Linked DNA regions of Homo sapiens: regions 2, 3, 4, 5, 6 and 7 are each linked to region 1. Evidence: promoter capture Hi-C in 16 types of primary human blood cells and fetal thymus (Javierre and others, 2016). All regions are on one chromosome and are shown on one strand. Each heading gives the region's core, a stretch centred on a gene start or on the middle of the fragment in contact. The rest is flanking DNA. Distances are from core to core; before and after follow the strand shown. Region 1 holds the start of KRT33B (keratin 33B). Region 2 overlaps LOC105371775 (a long non-coding RNA gene). Region 3 overlaps LOC105371775 (a long non-coding RNA gene). Region 4 has its middle 20 kb from the start of KRT25. Region 5 overlaps KRT25 (keratin 25). Region 6 overlaps KRT26 (keratin 26). Region 7 overlaps LOC105371776 (a long non-coding RNA gene).

Region 1 (3,032 bases), core at 228-2,727:
CAACTTGGTTATCCAACACATTCCACCTGCTAACTTCTCTCCACTCTCCCCTCATATTGCCCTTGTTCATGCCTTTGCAAAAAGCTTCTTGCTGTACCCAGAATGCCCTCACCCACTAGCAAGACCCCTTGTGTAACCCACATACTTAATCAATAACACTTCTTATGACCTTTGTGTGATCATTTTGTTTCCACATCTATCTCCCCTGTTAGACTGTGAGCTCCTGAAGGAAGGAGACTGTCTTACTCAGTACATTATCCCCCACCCCAGCACTGTGCCTAACACTCTCCAACTCTGGGTAAATAAATGAATGATATTCAAATAGCACAACCCCTTTCTGGCATCTAATTTTCCAGATCTACAGAACAGTGGGCAGTCAATTCCCTCCCAGAATCAAGGGCTTGTACAATTGGATATAAACTCCCACTCATCCTTCAAACCCCACTCAGACATTGCCTCTTCTGGGATCCCTCCCAAACCTACACCAGGTATTCAGTCCCAATTCTCTGTGGACTCTTTACTTATATCTACTTCTCTTCCAGAACAGATGGCCCCATATTGTCATCTGTACACATGGCTGCTCTAGAGGATGGTCCATGTGTCTGTAGATATTGCTGGAGTCAACAGCTCTCTTGTGTTGCCATAAATGCTATATTTTGCTACAGCTTTGAAAGGCTTTAAATATTTGAAGATTTACTTAGGAAATTCTTAGCATAGAAAATAATTCAGGTGCATACTTTTTGAAAATGCGGTAATGCTCTGAAAACAAAACCAGGGTATCATAATCAAACCAAAAAATCAGATATTCTGGTTTGGAGTAAGACGCCATATAAGATTGCTATGACTGATTTTGGTCTAATGCTTCACTCTAACACCAGCCTGCATCCTTCCTTTGTGGCTCTACAACAGATTTTCTAAGACTACTTGATGTCATACCTAAGCCAGTGAATCTATGTCTTTATCATTCTCAGCATTACTGTGAACAGACTTAGATCCATTCACAGTTTAGTATGTCAAATATAGATAAGTAGTTCATTAAGCTGGCAGTGTGGTGCCCACCTCCTCACCTTCTGCTGGAGCTCCTCAATGGTCTTGAAGTAGGACTGGTAGCTGGGGCACAGCAAGGGCTCCTGCTGCTGAGACCGCTCCCGGATGAGGTTCTCCAGCTCCGCGTTGTCCCGCTCCAGCTGACGCACCTTCTCCAGGTAGCTGGCCAGGCGGTCGTTCAGGAACTGCATAGTCTCCTTCTCGCTGCCATTGAAGGAGCCCTCGCAGAACCAGTTGCAGTTGCTCACATTGGCAGGGATGTTGCAGGCCCCGGGCAGGGTGTAGCCGTGGCAGCTGGGGGGCACACAGGGCCGGGAGGAGCAGCTGGTGCGGCAGCTCAGGCTGGGCAGGCAGAAGTTGTAGGGCATGGTGCAGGGAGGCAGTGGAGCTCTGGAAGTCAGTTTCAAAACCTGATTCCTTTTCCCTGGGATAAGCCTTGGTCCTTTCCAGGGCTTTATATTCTGTTAGCAGTGGGTGTGGCAACCATGTCAAGTATTCCTCCTTTTTACCTCCTTTGCTGATTTTTCCATTTGTTATTTAGCCACTTCACCTGAGTCCTATACCTCATTAAATGTTTTACTCTGGCTTCTTGCTAAGTCAGGACTCCTCACAAAACATGCTGATTGGTTAAGTAAGAGCTTCATGGTTTGGCTTCAAAGTGACCAACCTTGCCTGTAGCAGTGCTTATCCATGGGACATTGAGCTAGAGTGACAGCTGGGCCCTGTCCCCAGAGTAGGGGGCACATATGTGCCTCTTTCTCCTAAATGAGGAAAGGCTTGTGTCTCATCCAGTTCATATTCAATTAAGACTCTGTGAGAAAAGCCATGTAAGGAAACCCGTCTAGAAACTAGACTATGTGATAGGGAATCCTGGAAGCTGAAATGAGAAAGGACTTACAAGGCCATTGGTTCAAGGCCCATTTGCAGTTCCATCCAGGCAGATGGAGGCAACTCTACCCTCTTCCTATGGGGCTGCAGGAAGCCACCCACCTCCGTTTCTACTAGTATTCAGTGTTCACAGAACATTAAGAAACCTAAATTTTGGGAGCACCTACTCTGCATGAAGCACTGTGCTCCATGCCTGTGCACAGCGTGACTCTGTCATTGGTGATGGGTCCTGCTTGCTGAGCCTCCACTGTGCACCAGGCACAGTGCCAGGCACCTCATATGCACCAGCTCCTTCAGTCCTCTCAAAATGCTGCAAGGGTTTGTAGATAAGGACCCTAAGCCTCTGAGAGGTCTCCCAAGGTCACAGAGCTCCTACATGATGGAGCCAGGGTTCAAATACAGATCTCTCTAATTCCAATGTCCACACTCTGTCATATTACATGTCTCTCTCTTCCAATCTTTTCAGTACTGAGATGCAATAATGCAAAAAATACAGATTGAGCTCCATTGAGCTCAATCAGTGCTGACAATATCCTAAATTAGAATGGGCCAAAAAATAACAAGCCTGTTTTTTACTTATTAAAGAACCAAAAGTCACTTCTATGCTGAAGGAAGGAAGTTTACTAAGTGAAAATGCCTCATACCCACTAGAAGCTTGAAAAAAAAAAAAAAAGGAAACCCTTGGTTGATCTGAGGGAGAAATACCCAAGCCTAGCTCTCCAAAGGATATGACCCTGAAAATCCACCACTATGTCATGTGCATGAAGTGGCATTTTATGACCATTGGCACATTTTGGCAAGCAGATGCTCTACTCTCATGCATTCCAGATGGAACTATGAAATATGAGGATTTTATGTTTAATCTATCAGTGCTCAAATTCTGAAAGATACTCCTCCAAGTTGTTCCTTTTGGAAGCTACATATTAAGTCTTGCCATACAAGAATTCTTTTCCTACAGGTGACCTGCCATTCCTCAGATCACCCTTCCTTCAAACTTGCCTTCACAGCTTGGGACACATTCTTTTGGTTATCCTCATTGAAGGCCAATCTTCATCTTCTATGGGTGTGTTTATTTTTGGAACCAGCCAGAAGTCATT
Region 2 (3,032 bases), core at 226-2,725, 690 kb before region 1:
CTGCAACTGGCCGGATAAATGTGCCTACTCCAGCAGCAAGCTCTCCACATCCCGTCCCCCTTTCTGTCTCCTCCTTACTTCATGCCCCCACTGCCTCCTTAGTTTTCAGCTGCCAGTGCAAAGCACCCCAGCTTTCTCTAGGCTGTGCTCTGCTCCCTGACAGCTGCTGTTCTCTCCCCATCCCTCTCTTCTTCCCTTGCTTTCAACTTCCCAGCCAGTCTGAGTATTTGAGCACCTTCCAGCTGCTTCACTGTTGTGTCATGCCGGGGGCCATGTTGCACAGCCGCGGCACACATGTATATCCACGGGGACTCCTTTCTGAGCCTACTGGGTGCATAGAAACTGGTGTTCCAGAAGTGTACAGTTGAGTTTTTGACAAAGAGAAATTTTACAAACAAAATTGTGGCTGTACAAATTTTTTTTTAAAATTATATTTTCCCATTGGCTTCACAGAAGAGATAGCACCTGACCTTGGCTATTAAATGCACAGTATTTAAAATATATGGATTAACAAAATTTTATTTGCTCACACCTTTAAGTGGGGTTAAATATACTTGGTAATTGTTTTCTTCTTAACCAGATTGTCCTTAAGGGCAAAGAGTGCGTGTCTTACATTTCTTTAAAATTTGCCCCATTTCCGTCGTCCCACCAGCCCCTTAGACTTAGTGCTTAATGTTTTTAAACAAACAAATGAATATTAAAGTAGGCAATCTTTTATTGACTTTGTATCTTGTCTTGAAAAGGAGTTGATTACTGTTAAAATTCTCTTAAAAATATGTTTTGAGTTCTGGGAATATACATTGCAAGGTTCAAGTTTGTTTTGACTTTCTAATTGTATAATTAGAGAGGAGTAGCTCACTCAGGAATTACTGTTGTGAATGATAAGCTTTTCCTCTTGGATGTGAGGTTGTGTTCAGATTAAAGACACTAATATGGTATACCAGCAATTACACAGTTTAAGGCAACTAAGTTACATCTATAGACCATATCATTTTACATGAATATAATACTTCTATTTCCATAAATAATTCCGAATGCTTGGAGAAAACACTAGTTTTTATTCCCCAAAATCATTGTCTTTGAAACCTCCTTAAATAGCCATAAGACTAGCAACTCATGCCTTGAAAAAGGTAGTCACTGATATCAACACTGTTTGAGAATTGGAAAAACATTTCCAGGACAAGCACAGTGGCTCACACCTGTAAACCCAGAACTCTGGGAGGCTGAGGTGGGAGGATTGCTTGAGGCCAGGAGTTCGAGACCAGCCTAGGCTACACGGCAAGACCTCGTCTCTCCAAAAAAAAAAAAAAAAAAAAAAAAATTAGCCAGGCATGGTGGCACATGCCTATAGTCCTAGCTCCCAGGAGTTTGAGGTTACAGTGAGCTATGGTCTCACCACTGCACTCTAGCCTGGGTGACAGAGCAGGACCCAATTTTGAAAGAAAGAAAGAAAGAATTAATTTCCAGTTCTCTTTGATAAATTCTCAGTGTTAACGACTAAGACAGAATCCATCCTTTTTTCAACTGTATGGTTCTATATGATACCTTTGATAGTTAAGCTATATTAGTTTATTACCATACATTTGGATAGTTAGCAATCAATAAGTTTTGTGCTATCTGTGAAAAATAATCTGGTAGTAAGATAAAAGTGTGCATAACTTATTTTCTGCTTCAGTACTTAACATAGTTACTATTTTCTTGAAGACTGTAGTTTTGTAATACTATGCTCTTTGGTGAGACAAAGCGTTCTGAAATTTGTGAACACTTCTTATTTCCTGGTAATTATTTTTTTTGGCCCCCCCAGTTTGACTTTTCTTTCTTTTTGGCTTCTTATATCACTGTCCCACGTTAAAAAATTTAACAGATTTTAAGATGTCTTTTGGCTTAAATTGCAAACAATTACATTTGAAAATTAATGAACTTCGCGAAATTTAGTCCAGCCTATATGAAAAAGAAAACTGTTGTCAGGGTGAGAATAGATGATTCGTGATTTCAGATTCTGCCACACCTTTACAAATATTTTTCACACTGTTGCCTTCAGAAAAATTCATTATGCTAATCCATCAAGCTTCAGTTCCTTCTTAATTGTTTTTTTCAAACGTCTCTTCTCACTGGTGGCTTGGCGCCATCTCTCACTGCTGACTTCAGAAATGAAATGTGATGATATGCTGACATACCAGTGTCACAAGCTTTGTTACCTTTGAAAATCATTATCTTTGAAACTTCTGCAAGTAGCCACAAAACGAGTGACTCATACCTTTTTTATTTTTTTCCAACTTTTATTTTAGAATCAGGGGAGTCCATGTGCAGGTTTATTACCAGGGTATATTGTGTGATGCTGAGGGTTGGGGTACAAGTAATCCCATCACCCAGGTACTGAGCATAGTACTCAACAGTTAGTTTTTCAACCCTGTTCCCCTCCCTCCTGTGCCTCATACCTCAAAAGAGATGGTCATTGAAGTCAGTACTGTTTCAGAATTAGGAAAACATTTTCAGTTGTCTTTGAGAAATCCTAAGTGTCAATCTTAGAGCTTGAGGAAACAAACAAACAACAACCAGAATTCACCACTTTTTCAACTGTGTGCTTTTTCTTTGATACCTCTGATAATTTAGCTATGTTACCTTATTACTGTACTTGCATGTTGTAAATGATCAATACATGGTTTTTAAATTGAGTAGGGTATCTACAAGACACACTTAACTGCATAATTTGTGTCTAAATATGTCATGTATGTATTTTTTTTGTGTGACTCACTTATAGAAAGGACTTCCCTGTTGTGGTTCTTCGGTTGAGATAATTAACACCTCAAAATATCATATATAGTTCTGAATTTCTAGAGTTTTATTAGTTGTAAAGTGATTTTAGAAATGCACTCTGATTCTAAATGTTTGTCATGTGGATAGAAATTTTGCTATGAATAATACATTTTCATTAAAATAAAGACGTGTTTTTCATGCTATATATATATATATATTTTTTTTTTTTTAGTGTAATTGCCCATTTGTTCTTTTTTTTGTTTGTTTGTTTTTTT
Region 3 (3,032 bases), core at 331-2,830, 670 kb before region 1:
TATATTCACCAGTTTGTCTCCTCCTGGGTGAACACTGTCTAATTCCACGAAGTCGTCAAGCCAGTTTAGGCCACTTTCCTTAGAGCTTCAAATACTTTAGCCGTTTACTCTGAGCTGCCTGCTGTGAACCTTGTTTCTTGTTTGTCATCTCTGTGAGGATGGATGCCACGTCGACCATTCTCATCATTCTTGTGTATACTTCCCTGAGGTGAGAAAGAAAAAACAACCCTGTGAATCTCTGGATTAAAAGTCAACGGGTGAAAACCCATGTGCGAGGCTGGGTGCGGTGGCTCACGCCTGTAATCCCAGCACTTTGGGAGGCCGAGGTGGGCGGATCCCAAGGTCAGGAGTTCGAGACCAGCCTGGCCAACATGGTGAAACCCCGTCTCTACTAAAAATACAAAAATTAGCTGGGCTTGGTGGCGCGTGCCTGTAATCCCAGCTACTCAGGAGGCTGAGGCAGGAGAATCGCTTGAACCTGGGAGGTGGAGGCGAGATCGCGCCGCTGCACTCCAGCCTGGGCGACAAGCGAGAGACTCTGTCTCAAAAAAAACAAACAAACAAAAAAGAAAGCCCATGTGCATGTGGGCATGAGCTCTCCCTTCTTACAGTAAATCCACTCTTAGAAAAAAGAAATGTGTTCCTCTCATTCAAAAGTTGAGGCTGAATGCAGTCGTTCATGCCTATAACCCCAGCCCTTTGGAAGGCCGAGGTGGGAGGATTGCTTGAGCCCAGGAGTTTGAGACCAGCCTGGGCAACATAGTGAAACTCCATCTCTACAAAAAATAAACAAAATTAGCTGGGCATGGTTGCCTGCAGCTACTCAGGAGGCTGAGGTGGGAGGATTGCTTGAGCCCAGGAAGTTGAGGCTGCAGGTGAATCGAGATGGCACCACTACACTCCAGCCTGGGCAACAGAGCGAGACCCTGTAACAAAACAAAGCAAAAAAATTGCCTGGAGAGCTGAACTTTAGGGTCTCACAATAAACATATTCCTATTGTAGAGTTTTAAAATAATTTTAAGGCAAGTAATAATGTATGAACACCATGTCCTTAACTTTTTATTCAGCACTGTAAATACGTTTTATGATCCAAAATGGTTGAATAGTTTCAGTTTTCAAAATTGAACATGCCCTTAACAACACATTCTATTGTGTCTCAGTGTTCTGGTGTCTATGATTGGGCCTTTTCTATATTTGTAAACAATCATTCAGTACAAACGCAGCATCTTAACGCATGACAAGGAAGAACAGATGAGGGTTTTCACCTCGAGATGACTTTCAGAGTAGCCTTATACTTTTGCCTTGACATGAAAATAGTACTAGCCATGAACATAGGTCTCAGGTGGCCAAAATCCACAGCTAGAAGGTTAGACTTGAGAAGACCCACAGAGAGAGGCTTCGCTGATGTGGCCGGGATGGCTTAGGTTCTGCAGGCTGCTTACGGCAGATTTCCATTTCTGCTCTTGAGCTATGAATCCAGTTGGATGAGCTGGTTCAGACTTTTAGTATTTCAGCAGAGAAGAAGCATTCAGGGTTTTATTTATTGTAATGATTTGATGGTGGAAAACAGCTTTGACTTAAGCAACTTAACATTGCTCTTTTTCTTTGAGTAGTGGTTTAATGTTTATTCTGTGGTTAGCTATTAACCTTATTCTGTGGTTAGCTATTTAAGCAGAAGTCATAATGTACCCAGAGGTTCATTTTAAGTTTTATTCAATGTGCCCAGAAGATGAAAAACTACATGTTTTGATGATAGGTTTGATATGCTCACACAATTCTTAATTGGTTTTATATTGGAAGATACATGTTCAGATTTGTCCTTTTATAACTTTACATTTGGCTTTTTATGCCACGTCCCGTGTTCTTTCCTTGAGGACTGGCTTGTAGAGTTGATTCTCTAATTTGTGATATGGGCATATTAAATTCCTTGATTGAGAAAGCCCTTAGCCAGCCTGGGTTGGTGCTATGCCTGGTTCTTCCTGGGGCCCGTACCACCTCCTACCCAATCTTAACAGGTTTCATCATCCCAAACAAGACAAGACAAAGCCATGTGGCCTCAGGGATACTGTAGAAATGAAAGAATAGGGCTATGACCACCAACGGGATGAAAGATCTTAGCAGTGGAGACTGGGGAAAAGAAACACCAGCTTGGCGAAGTGGCAGGTTTTGGCTAAAGATGTGGCTAGATTTGGCAGGGGAACAAGTGCCTGAGGATCTCTTCTCTTTGGGGCTTTCAAGGTTTCAGGAAATCAGATTGCCATATCACATAGCCAATCTTATTTCCCAAGACTCTTTTTTGGCCCCTGTCCTAAATGTCCTGTAAACACACATGTCTGATTCCTATGTCACTTCTGATGCAGATTGTGAAATCAAGTCTTTACTATTAACAGCTTTTTATTGCTTGCTGTCTTCTTTGTGTTTTAGCTCTTCTTCTCTGCTGAAATGTGAGCTTTTTGAAGTAGGAGGGAGATTTTGAGTTTCTTTTTTATCTTATAAAATATCGAGTTCAGTGATGGACATATATAAACTAGACATTAATTATAAGTTGATTATTAAAATAATCACATCCTTCTTTGTGGGCTAAGCCGTTGACACGGTAGTCTAATTTCAGCTATCATGCCACTGAGTTCTTATGTGATGCCATTAAAAATGCCCACATTAAAAAAATGACTATAATCTGAATTGTATAAAGAAGGTAATGTGATACCCTACCTCGTTTTAACCTGATTGTCTCTCTTAGCTGAGAGAGCCGGACAGACTCCATTTTTGTTTCTTCACTTGCAGCTCCCCTCCCTTAAAGGCATAAGTAGTGCAAGCTGACTCCGAGCACATCCAGGAATGCGCTTACTGATGAGATATCGAGGCAAGCTAAATCAGCAGTTCCTGAGGACGCGCTTGGGGGATGGCACCCAAAGCCCCTGCATTATCTCTTTGTGATAGTTTGAGCCCCTGCACCTGGAACTGTTTACTTTTCTGTAACTGTTTCTGTAACCAATTAATCTTTCTTAATTGGTTTGCCTGTTCTGCTTCT
Region 4 (3,032 bases), core at 187-2,686, 630 kb before region 1:
CCGCCTCCTGGGTTCAAGCGATTCTCCTGCCTCAGTCTCCCCAGTAGCTGGGATTATAGGTGCCCACCACAAGGCCCAGCTAATTTTTGTATTTTCAGTAGAGACGGGGTTTCACTGTGTTGGCCAGGCTGGTCTTGAACTCCTGACCTCGTGATCTGCCCTCCTCGGCCTCCCAAAGTGGTGGGATTACCGGCATGAGCCACTGTGTGCAGCTTTTTTTTTTTTTTTTTTTTTTTTTTTGACTGGGTCCTGCTCTGTTACCCAGGCTGGAGTGCAGTGGCATGATCTCGGCTCACTGCAACCTCTGTCTCCTGGGTTCAGCCATTTCTCCTGCCTCAGCCTCCTGAGTAGCTGGGATTACAGGTGCCTGCCACTGCGCCAACTAATTTTTGTATTTTTAGTGGAGATGGGTTTTCACTATGCTTGCCAGGCTGGTCTCGAACTCCTGACTTCAGGTGATCTGCCTGCCTCAGCCTCCCAAAGTGCTGGAATTACAGGCATGAGCCACCATGCCCAGCCCAAGAGAACTCATTTTAAGGAAGGATGGACTCCATTATGAGCTGTATGTGACGACAGAGCCTAGATGTCCAAGGGTATGGAGGGCTTGAGTGTGGGGTGCTCATGCATGCTGGCAGTTGGGGGTAGGACTTGTAGGGGATGAATGTGCTGAAGTGAAACTCCGTACTATCTTGGGGCTCTGCACAGGAGACCTCTTCTGCAGGAAAGGGTTAACTCAGCAGGCTTGGGGTGTTTAGATCTTGCACATACCAAAGAAAGGCGTAGCCCTTACCCAGCTCTTGGGGAAAAAGCTCTCAGCTTTGGAATATTCTGCCTGATAGGAGTGTCTTTGTATACCTGGGGCTTTAGGCCACGGCAGAGAGTTTATGCTAACAGTGTGACTTATAGTGGCGTTCTTGGGCTACGCTGTATCAGTTTGACTTCTGGAGGGGCTGCAGACTGAGTAACTGAGGTGAACCATGTGGGCGTCCCATACCTAAGTGACTGACCCCCAATAAAAACTCTGGACACCAAGGTTTGGGCAAGCTTCTCTGGTTGACATTACTATGTATGCATTGTCACACATCATTTCTGGGAGAATTAAGTGCTGTTTTTTGTGACTCCATGTGAAAGAACAATTGGAAGCTTATGCCTCGTCTCTCCTGGACATGGCCCTATGTGCCTTTTGCCTTTGCTGATTTTAATGTGTATCCTTTTACTGTAATAAACCATAACCATGAGTATAACATTTTTCTGAGATCTGTGAGTCCTTCTAGTGAACCATTGAAATTGAGGATGGTCTTGGGGGCCCCAACATACCCCTATAGAATGGAGCTCAGAAAAAGTAGAAGGGTGTTTCTTTTCTCCCTTTTTGGATAGAAACTTCCAAGTAATTGTAGCATATCATGAGACTTGAGAGTATCAGTGGCCTAGTGCAGAGCATTAAATTATAGTGGAAAAGACTGGTAGCCAGAGGTTTTGTATGTAGTTTTTTATAGGTGGCAACTAAATAACTAGAAAAATTAAATTAGTGCATCAATGTTAAGAAGACTTCATGGATCCCTGTAAACTGGTGGAGAGTGAGGACTTCTGGTTATGTTTCAGTTACTAAATCCTCTAGGTAATTTACAAATTATAGCCATGCTCTCTTAGGTATATAAATATACCTCTTTCCATATTAAGCAGAATGCCCTCAAGAACCAATGTGGTTACATTTTTCTTCCCTTTTTGGAAAGCTTTCAATTACTTCCTACCTTTGACACTAGTTCAGGCATGTTAACCACCTTGCCACATAGAACCTCCCATCTGAGCAGGAAGGTTTAGGCTGCAATGAGTGCCGTGTTCCTGCAGGTATAAGTATCACAGAGGACAGGATTAGGAACAGTGCTCTCTGTATGTTCTTTGTAGACTTGCCATTTTGGCAACACAGTCATTGGAACTAGGTCATTTTCTCCTGAATATTTTTGTTTTAATTGGCTAATTTATTCAACTCATTGTCTGAGTCTTATGGTAAAGTAGGGAGAATTGTCATTCACCTTTAAGAGGATTGATAAGGCTGGGCGTGGTGGCTCATGCCTGTCCCAGCACTTTGGGAGGTTAAGGAGGGAGGATTGCTTGAGCCCAGAGATTTGAGACTAGACAAGGCAACATAGGGAGACCCCATCTCTACAAAAATAAATAAATAAGTAAGAGAATTGATAAGATGAAATCTCTCATTCTTCTTACTAGAAATGCCTCTGAATCAACCACTTCTCATGGGGCATTAGTTTCCTCAAGGGGAAATGACACGGACTAGTCTCTAAGCTCTCTTTTATCTTTAAACTTCTCTGATAACATACAATTAATTTTTAAATTTTTATTTCCTTTTCACCGTAGTAGCTACATTGATTGAGGGTTTAATATGAACCAGACACTCTCCAAAGCGCATAGATTAGATATTTAATCATCACACCAACTCTCTGAATAGGTGTTAATATTATTATCACCATTTTACAGGTGAGGAAATTGAGAGACAAGGTAATCAGATAACTTGCCCAAGAAAACACAGCTAGAAAGGGGTAGAAATAGTTTTAAATCCAGAAAATTCGAGGCTTGTTCCCTTAACCACTCTTCAGTGTTGCCTTCTCTGACAAGTAAGGGACTACATTTTCTTTAGCTTGATATATTCCTTTGATGCATTAATAAAATGAATTAGAGGAAAAGGTCCAAGCCATGGTGCTCTGACCTGCTCACTGAGGCTGGAACCACTCAGCTGTAGTCTGAATCCTCATAGGACTACCGCTCCTGATCACATTCTCATGCCCTGGAAATTGATCACCTGGAATTGTGGAAATAGTTCTATGTACAACCACTAGGCCATTCCTGAGGCTACAAATGGTTTCTGAAATATTTTCTAAGACGTGAATAAGAAAAAAGCAAGGGAAAATGAATAAAACCAGGTGTGATATCCAAAATAGTTAACAATTATATGGCATGGACATGGATGAGTCAGAATGAATACTAGCAGCTGGTAAGTCTGGACTGGGGTCCTGGAC
Region 5 (3,032 bases), core at 392-2,891, 620 kb before region 1:
ATACCAGTAACATGCAAAGGGACCGTTTTCTGGAGGAGAGTCACCTTCTCGTTGAACCAGGCCTCCGCGTCCCTGCGGTTCTGCTCTGCAAGGGCTTCGTACTCAGCTCGCATGTTGTTCAGCAGAACTGTGAGGTCCACCCCGGGGGCTGCGTTCATCTCCACGTTCACGTTGCCTCCAGCTGCGCACTGCAGAACTTGCATTTCCTAGAGGCAGAAAAGTGTTCTGCTCAGCTCTGCAGGAATCTCATGGAAAGTCTAGAAGCTTAGCTTTGGAAGGGCACTTAGAGTTCGTCTGGTTTTCCCCTCCCAGGCTGTGCATTGACCCCCTCCCACCACATTTGATACTTCCTGTCCCGTTGACCTAATTCTCAAAGACGGTGAACTCACTACCTTATGAAGTAGCCTGTTTCATTCTGGGAGAGTTTTAATTGTTCCAGAGTTCTTTATTATAGTGAGCCAAACTCCTGCTCTTATAACTTAAACTCATCAGTTTCAGTTCTACTACTCAGAATGCATCTTAATTCCTTTTCCATATGAAAGTTTTAAACATTTAAAATGAATGGTCCTCCATCGCTTATTCTATTCTCGGCCTTTGTGGACTGGTCTTCCTTCCACTAGAGGCCAGCTTTGGTGCAGTGTTAACTCAGCTACACCCTGAGCACAGCCATGAACATGGTTGAAGGGTTGAGTATGAATAATTCTGAACAATTGAAATGATGATAAATAAATAAATGTATGTGTGTGTGTGTGTGTGTGCGTGCGTGTGTGTGTGTGTGTGTGTGTGTGTGTGTACCCCTCAGGGAAGAACATCATCCCCTAAAGAATCCCAGCTGTCTATTAAGTCTATACAGGGACATTACAGTATCATGTTGGACTTTGGAGTCACGCAGATCTCTCTGAATTTTGGTTCTGCCCTATAGTGGCTAGTGAGTTTGGGAAAGTTGCTTAACCTTTTTACGTTTCTATTTGCTTATCTGAAAATTGAGGATAATTAAAAACCCTTCTCTGAGTTGTTAAAAGAAGTCAAAGAACTAATAATAATAATAAGACTCCGTGATACTGCCTTGCACATAAATGCTAAATGAATGCTGGTTATTATGATTATTATCATCATGGAAGCTGGAATTTATTTTGCAGTCAAAGTCTACATGTTACCCTGTCTGAACTGCAAGCTGTTAGAATGTGTGAGTCAGTTCTAAGATTGTGAATGGTAGGCATCGCTGCGAAGACTGTGTATATTGGAATACCACCCATCAGCTTATGTCTGCTGCAGAAACTCTCCTCCCCATTCATGAATTGGTCTTAATGATGGTAACTAAGGCTTTCATTCCTCCCTGCAGCGAGCCCCTCAGCCATTCCAGCCTTCTTTCCTCCTGGTTGAAACTATGTCTTCCTGATCTACAGATGTGGCTTTTACTTCTGAGGATTTAGTGAAAACTTCCTGGTTCAAGCATAAAAAGAAAAAGATAAAAAAAGATATATGTATATCATCTATATCTATATATCTATATCTATATCTATATCTAGGGTTGCCTGTAAATGAGGCATTACAAAAATCAATTGCTTTTGATTCATCAAAAATTGATTAAACACCATGGGCTGTAACTATATTTGAATCCACGTAGTCAAATCAATGTTATTCAAGTAGTTATATTTATAAGACAGCCTCATGACTAATCAAGTAGGATTCTTAGCTTGATCTTCTGTTTTAAGCATTTGGCTTGACCATAGAAGTCTTTTGGCTATTTAAAATATCAAATTTATTTTCAAAGGATAAAGATTTTTCCCTTTTGGAAAACAGTGCCTCTGAAAGCAATCCTAAAGATGTAATTGCTGCAATATAAAATTTGGAACTTAGCTTCCAACAGTGACCACTTTGGAAGTTTATGATTAAGTGTAAATTCTGGTATAATAGTTTAACTTCATGCTCATTATTTTTACAGCCAGACCTATTAAGAATATGTACTAGCGTTAAGTATGTATACTTAATGTGTGTATGAAGTAAATGTTTTAGTGTTTTAAATCTGCCACTGTCATTTAGAAATTGAGATCTAGTTTTCTAGTTTAAGGATGGCCTTAAAGTATATTTATTTTATATTTATTTTATCTAATTAGACTTAATGTCCAAAGCGGATCATTTTAACTTAGTTATAATTACACAGCCAAACACTGCTCTTATAACCCTGATTGGTCTGGAAAACATGATTCGTTTTTTTTTTTCCCCATAGGAAACTTGATGAGAGAGCAAGGGTGAATCTGTACAAAGAATCTGACACTTAAAAAGACAGCTCAGGCCGGGTGCGGTGGCTCACGCCTGTAATCCCAGCACTTTGGGAGGCTGAGGCAGGTGGATCACGAGGTCAGGAGATCGAGACCATCCTGGCTTACACAGTGAAACCCCGTCTCTACTAAAAATACATAAAATTAGCCGGGCGCCTGTAGTCCCAGCTACTCGGGAGGCTGAGGCAGGAGAATGCCGTGAACCCAGGAGGCGGAGCTTGCAGTGAGCCAAGATCGCACCATTGCACTTCAGCCTGGACGGCAGAGCGAGACTCCGTCTCAAAAAAAAAAAAAAAAAAAAAAAAAAAAAAAAAAAAAAAAGACAGCTCAGCCCTCATGTCTGTCTGACAATGTGTCTTCAGCACCAACTTTTTATATGAGAGGTTATGTACATTATCTCCTGTCAGGTGCACAGTGTCTGCGGAGGGATAGCAAAATGTAGACGACCAGCTCTTACCTCTTTATGGTTCTTTTTGAGGTAAGTCATCTCCTCACTCAGGGTTTCATACTGAATCTCCAGATCTGTTCTGCACAGGGTTATTTCATCCAAAACTCTTCGTAACCCATTGACATCAGCCTCTACACTCTGGTGAAGAGCCAGCTCATTTTCATACCTTAAAGAGTGTTAATGATTTCCTAATTTGTCACATGGTTGGAGACATAGTCACTAGTCACTGATCAATGACAAATGCTAGCATTCTGGAATTTTGAAGATTTGGCCACAAGAGGCATTTTCAAAGCTTGTTGTAT
Region 6 (3,032 bases), core at 163-2,662, 600 kb before region 1:
TTGATTCACAGCCAGGGCTGCAATTCCAGGGCTGTTGCTATTGACTAAGAAACTATGGTGCCTCTCCAATTAATTCTTCCTATATCTTCATTGCTCATCTTTAATACAAGGTACATGTGGGGTAACTAGTGAAGTGATAAGAAAAGAGAATGAGTTATTTATAAGAAATGTGCTTACACACTAAATCACAGAAAGCAATTTTCCCCTTGAATTGGAGTACTGGAATTGTTAAATATTCTATATTTAAATGTCCTTTATATATTATACATACAAATATTTTGCATACTTAGAAATTTGATTTTCAAATTTCTGCATGTTTTAATTTCACTTGGCTGCAATAATATACATTCCTGAGGATAAATATGTATGATCTCCAGAGTAGGAAATTCTAGGATGCAATATTGGCATACCTATACTGTGGGAAAACCTAGTTAATGTGAGGTTTTTTTTTTTTTTTGCAAGTTAATCTTTACCTTTCTTCTCCATCTAGTAAGTTGCAATAAATGTCAATTTCTTTTTCTAAAAATATTTTTACATCAAGAAGCTGTTCATACTCCAGCTTCTGGCCTTCTGTTTCTGTTCGAATCTGTTGCAGTTGTTCCTCCATCACCCCTATCTGATCCTGAATTTGCTGGAGTTGATTGCAGTAATTTCCTTCAGTCTCAGCCAAGGAGCATTCATAGGAATGTTTCTGAAAGAAAAGCAAAGTGAAGCTTGAATGTGTAAAAGAGAAATGGCATGGTCATCTTATATTATTTTATTTATTTTTTTGAGACTGTGTCTTGCTCTGTCACCCAGGCTGAGTGCAGTGGCATGATCTTGGCTCACTGCAGCCTCTCTTCCTGTGTTCAAGTGATTCTCCTGCCTCAGCCTCCTGAGTATGTGGGATTACAGGTACATGCCACCACACCCAGCTAATTTTTATATTTTTAGTAGAGATGGGGTTTCACCATGTTGGCCTGGCTGGTCTTGAATTTCTGACCTCAAGTTATCCACCTGCCGTGGCCTCCCAAAGTGCTGGGATTACAGGTGTGAGCCACTGTGCTTGGCCGGCATGGTCATATTTTAAATATTCTCAAGGTAGAAATAATTATTTGTATAAGGTCTGAATATTTTCAATTGAAAATCAACATTTGCAAGATTTAAAAAAATTCCTCTATTGTAAAAAGGCATTTTTCAAGTTTTGGAATTGGTGAGTTTAGGGACAGAATTCTTGATATTTAATATATTTTATACTTTTAGTCATATGTAAATGGTTATACGTACTTGGTGTTATATGTATTTTTATATCTGTATTGACTTATACATATTCACACATATATTCAATTCAATGGCGATTCCTACGTACCACAGCCATGAGGGACTGAAGTTCTATTTCCAGGGTTTGCAGATTGCGTTTTAATTCGGTCAGCTCATTTCTGGCTGCTGTGGCTGCTCCCTCATGATCGGAAATCTGTTGTTGCAGCGTTGCACTCTGAAGTGTAATTGTCGAAAGGGTTAGTGACTGGCCTGATTGTCTCCTGAGCAAGCCCTTTGTAATTTGCCATAGACCTACCCTCTCGTTGAACCAGGCTTCAGCATCTTTGCGGTTCTGCTCAGCCAAGTCCTCATACTCAGCCCTCATGTTGTTCAACAGGACAGTTAGGTCCACTCCTGGGGTTGCATTCATCTCCACGTTCACGTTCCCCCCAGCTGTATATTGCAAGACTTCCATTTCCTAGAAAAGGGATCGGTATTCATCCTCAGTGGAGGATTTTGATTGATGTTCATGCCCTGCTACGAAATGAACAGTGGACTTCAAGAAGGAAATTAGAAACTGTATGAAGCCACTCTGCAGGCTTCCTTACCTCCTCATGACTTTTTTTGAGGTAGGTCAATTCCTCACTGAGGGTCTCACACTGTATCTCCAGGTCGGTTGTACAAAGGGTCAGTTCATCCAACACTCTGCGAAGACCACTGGTGTCGGCCTCAACACTGTGGTGCAGAGCCAGCTCATTTTCATACCTGAAAGATTAGTAAGGCACCTGAGAGTTGTCATCGTAGGCAGGTGCAAAGCACAACTTTTTAAGGTATTTCATATGCTGAAAGATATGATGTTCTGTACATACCTCTGAAGCTTCTTGCAATGGCAAACTGCTAAAATGGTTTGAGATACCTAACAATTCATGAATTGTATTTTGGGGATGTTATTTCTTCAGAGCTGATTTTTGTCATCCAATGTGCTTAACAATTAAATAAAATATTGCTAGATTTTAGATTTTAAAAAATATGTGATTGCTCTTTTTTGTTGTTTGTTTTTGAGACAGTCTCACTCTGTCACCCAGACTGAAGTGCAGTGGCCCCATCTCAGCTCACTGCAACCTCCACCTTCCGGGTTCAAGTGATTCTCATGTCTCAGCCTCCCAAGTAGCTGGGATTACAGGAGTGAGCCACCATGCCTGACTATTTTTTTGTGTGTGTACTTTTAGTAGAGACGGGGTCTTGCCACATTGGCCAGGCTGGTCTCAAACTCCTGACCTCAAGTGATCTGCCTGCCTCAGCCTCCCAAGGTGCTGGGATTACAGGCATGAGCTACTCTATCCAACCATGATAGCTCTTTTTATAACGGCTTATTTAATTCAATTTCTTTATTGATCTAGTCTGGCTTTAGAAAAACATTTTGGTTTTCAAAGCAAAATATATATTCCTTAATCCAATTGTAATATTTTAACTTTTATTAATATAATTAATCAGTTTGTTTTCACCTACTTCAGCCTGAAGTCATCAGCGGTCAGTCTGGCATTGTCATTTTGTAGAACAATGCTGGCATTGCAGATGGTCGCAGAAATAATCTAAATAGGGAAGATTGTGAAAAATGTTAATTACCAAAAGTCAAAGGAGGCTCCAGACTTCAGTGTGATTTTATATCTTCTTAATCTGTCAAACATCTGTTTTAGTATCTTTTTTCTATGTTAAAGAAATCTGGATTTTCTTCAGATAATAAGCATCCAGAGCTTAAGAGCCACATAGATACTTTTACTACTTTTGATCAA
Region 7 (3,032 bases), core at 533-3,032, 550 kb before region 1:
CTACACTCTTAGTTCCAGTGATGAATTAAATTGTGCTTCAGTTTCTTCATCTGTAAAATGGAGATAATAATAGTATATATGTCATAGAGTTCATTCCTTCAAAAACGATATTTTTGGTACCTAACCTGTGTTAGTCACTGTTCTAGTGCCTCAGGATACATGAATGGATAAAGTAGACGAAGATCAAGCGTTGTCTTTCTGGAGTGTACCGTCTAGCAGGGGAAAAGGATGACTAATAATGAATACATTGTATAGTAAGTTGGAAACAGTGCTGTGAAAAAAAGAAAAAGTGGAAAACCTAGGCAATACCATTCAGGACACAGGCATGGGCAAAGACTTCATGACTGAAAAACCAAAAGCAATGGCAACAAAAGCCAAAATTGACAAATGGGATCTAATTAAACTAAAGAGCTTCTGCACAGCAAAAGAAACTATCATCATGGTGAACAGGCAACCTACAGAAAGGGAGAAAATTTTTGCAATCTACCCATCTGACAAAGGGCTAATATCCAGAATCTACAAAGAACTTAAACAAATTTACAAGAAAAAAACAACCCCATCAAAAAGTGGACAAAGGAAATGAACAGACTTCTCAAAAGAAGACGTTTATGCAGCCAACAGACATATGAAAAAATGCTCAACATCACTGGTCATCAGAGAAATGCAAATCAAAACCACAATGAGATACCATCTCACACCAGTTAGAATGGCGGTCATTAAAAAGTCAGGAAACAACAAATGCTGGAGAGGATGTGGAGAAATAGGAACGCTTTTACACTGTTGGTGGGAGTGTAAATTAGTTCAACCATTGTGGAAGACAGTGTGGCAATTCCTCAAGGATCTAGAACTAGAAATACCATTTGACCCAGCGATCCCTTTACTGGGTATACATCCAAAGGATTATAAATGATGCTACTATAAAGACATATGCACACGTATGTTTATTGTGGCACTATTCACAATAGCAAAGTCTTGGAACCAACCTAAATGTCCAGCAATGATAGACTGGATTAAGAAACTGTGGCACATATACACCAGGGAATACTATGCAGCCATAAAAAAGGATGAGTTCATGTCCTTTTCAGGGATATGGATGAAGCTGGAAACCATCATTCTGAGCAAACTATCACGAGGACATAAAACCAAATACCACATGTTCTCACTCATAGGTGGGAGTTGAACAATGAGAACACATGGACACAGGGTGGGGAACATCACACACCTGTTGTGGGGTAGAGGGCTGGGGGAGGGATAGAATTAGGGGAAATACCTAATGTAAATGACGAGTTAATGGGCGCAGCCAACCAACATGGCACACGTATAACTACGTAACAAACCTGCACATTCTGCACATGTACCCTAGAACTTAAAGTATAATAATAATAAAAAAAGTGGAGCAGATAGGGGAGTTGGGAGATTGGCAGGTAAAATTTTAAGCGGAAAATCAGAGTGGGTCTCAAAGAAAAAGTGACAACTGTGCAAAGGCTTGAAGGAGGTAAGGAAGACCATCTTGTTAAAGAATATTAACCAAGGTAACATCAAAAGAGAAATGGAGAGACATCAAAGAATTTTGATCAAATATAATTAGACTTACAATTTGATCTAATATATTAGACTTACATTTTAAAAGGATAACTATGGTTCTGTGTTGAAAATAAACTGTAGGGTAGTAGCTAAGCTTAAATGAGTTCATATACATGTTATATGTACTGAGTCTACCTACCTATCTGTATCTATCTATCTATCTATCTATCTATCTATCTATCTAATCTATCTATCTATCCATCCACACATTTACCCACCTACCTACCTATCTATCCATCCATCATTTACTCAGAACAATGCCCGGTGTGATTTAAAGGCTATTATTATCATTATTTTCATTGTCAAGCTTAGTTTAACCACAACTACCTCATATAAGGTAGCTATCCCTTATTGTATAGGTAAGTAAACAGACTCAGAAGGGTTGAAGTAACTTGTCCAAAGGTACATAATTTGTAAATGCCAGTGCCAGGATAGGAAGTCCAGGGATCACTGTGTTTCAGTTGCATGCTCATAAACCATGAATAAGCTCTTTCCCTAATTCCCATTCTCAAAATGCAATATAGATGAGAAATATTAGATGCATCCTATTTAACCTTAATCGAGTTACTTCCCTGATAAAGATGACCCTAACAAAGCTATTTCTTCACTCCCAAGCAAAATATCAAGCCATCATGGGCACCAAGATTAGGGTGCAAAGCTTTTAGGCCTTTAGCATCATAAGAGAACATCTTTGGGGAAACAGGATTTTATCGTGTAATATTTTTTGACATGGGTGCCGAATTGGCTCTGCCAATCTAATTAGGCACTACCCTGCTTAAATAGCAGGATTCTGTAATGACTTTAGAATCTGTAAGAATGCATACAGAATTTTTTGATTAATAGGTACATGCAAATTTATTTGGTAAAAATAGTGCCCTGTGCTATTTAATAATTTTTAAAAATAATTCTGTAATTTTTTTTACTATAAATACCAATGTCCTTATTAAAGACAAGTGGCTTATTTAGACAGATTATCTTTATTAAACCATAGTGTTGGGCACTGCGGCATGTGCCTATAATCCCAGCTACTCAGAGACTGAGGTGGGAGGATTGCTTGAGCCCAGTTCAAGACTAGCATGGGCAACACAGTGAGACTTTGTCTCATTAAAAAAAAAAAAAAAAAAGCAAAAACAAACCATAGTTATCCAAGTCCAATCAAGAAAGCAGCTGTTTATCTGAGATAAAGTATTTACTTTATCAGAGAGAATATAAATAATTGTTTAAGGAGGTATTGCAAGATTGAAATGGTAAGAAGACAGGACCACGATGTATGCAGACTTTTCAGGAATGAAAGTTTGGGTCACCATCCAACCACATAGAGGACTCTGACTGCTAAGATTGTGGCCTGGGGGAGGAGGGCAGAATGGGTAGAAGAGACAAACTTAACAGCAAGCACTGCTATCTCATAGTAACATATGTGTACTTGCCTCGTATCAGTGGTATTGAAT

What was found. The method cuts DNA at HindIII sites, captures the fragments that hold promoters and counts their contacts. A CHiCAGO score of 5 or more calls a contact.
Region 2: a contact is called between a fragment that was not itself captured here and the fragment with the promoter of KRT33B in region 1, in 1 of 17 cell types (endothelial precursors). The highest score is 5.3, in endothelial precursors.
Region 3: a fragment that was not itself captured here is called in contact with the fragment with the promoter of KRT33B in region 1 in 2 of 17 cell types (M1 macrophages and erythroblasts); the score reaches 5.5 in M1 macrophages.
Region 4: a contact is called between a fragment that was not itself captured here and the fragment with the promoter of KRT33B in region 1, in 1 of 17 cell types (erythroblasts). The highest score is 5.8, in erythroblasts.
Region 5: a contact is called between a fragment that was not itself captured here and the fragment with the promoter of KRT33B in region 1, in 1 of 17 cell types (erythroblasts). The highest score is 5.9, in erythroblasts.
Region 6: a fragment that was not itself captured here is called in contact with the fragment with the promoter of KRT33B in region 1 in 1 of 17 cell types (M2 macrophages); the score reaches 5.4 in M2 macrophages.
Region 7: a fragment that was not itself captured here is called in contact with the fragment with the promoter of KRT33B in region 1 in 1 of 17 cell types (M0 macrophages); the score reaches 5.7 in M0 macrophages.

What each region holds. Positions count from the first base shown.
Region 1 is chr17:41,368,336-41,371,367 of GRCh38, forward strand. KRT33B (keratin 33B) reads right to left here and starts at 1,478. Exons shown (of 7, transcript NM_002279.5): 1 at 1,068-1,478. The coding sequence starts at 1,415. The HindIII fragment of the contact is 2,505 bases long and covers 83-2,587 here.
Region 2 is chr17:40,676,961-40,679,992 of GRCh38, forward strand. The region is part of intron 1 of LOC105371775 (a long non-coding RNA gene); the gene reads left to right. Among named protein-coding and RNA genes, the nearest start is that of KRT222, 13 kb to the left of the region's middle. The HindIII fragment of the contact is 1,182 bases long and covers 885-2,066 here.
Region 3 is chr17:40,694,671-40,697,702 of GRCh38, forward strand. It overlaps LOC105371775 (a long non-coding RNA gene), which reads left to right. Exons shown (of 4, transcript XR_934751.2): 4 at 2,786-3,032. Among named protein-coding and RNA genes, the nearest start is that of KRT24, 7.6 kb to the right of the region's middle. The HindIII fragment of the contact is 3,749 bases long and covers 1-3,032 here.
Region 4 is chr17:40,733,419-40,736,450 of GRCh38, forward strand. No RefSeq gene overlaps it. Among named protein-coding and RNA genes, the nearest start is that of KRT25, 20 kb to the right of the region's middle. The HindIII fragment of the contact is 590 bases long and covers 1,142-1,731 here.
Region 5 is chr17:40,751,121-40,754,152 of GRCh38, forward strand. KRT25 (keratin 25) reads right to left here. Exons shown (of 8, transcript NM_181534.4): 3 at 2,740-2,896; 4 at 45-206. Among named protein-coding and RNA genes, the nearest start is that of KRT25, 2.7 kb to the right of the region's middle. The HindIII fragment of the contact is 2,758 bases long and covers 263-3,020 here.
Region 6 is chr17:40,768,406-40,771,437 of GRCh38, forward strand. KRT26 (keratin 26) reads right to left here. Exons shown (of 8, transcript NM_181539.5): 2 at 2,749-2,831; 3 at 1,848-2,004; 4 at 1,556-1,717; 5 at 1,349-1,474; 6 at 474-691. Among named protein-coding and RNA genes, the nearest start is that of KRT26, 2.3 kb to the right of the region's middle. The HindIII fragment of the contact is 1,403 bases long and covers 712-2,114 here.
Region 7 is chr17:40,813,802-40,816,833 of GRCh38, forward strand. It overlaps LOC105371776 (a long non-coding RNA gene), which reads left to right. Exons shown (of 4, transcript XR_934753.2): 4 at 147-327. Among named protein-coding and RNA genes, the nearest start is that of KRT10-AS1, 3.8 kb to the right of the region's middle. The HindIII fragment of the contact is 213 bases long and covers 1,677-1,889 here.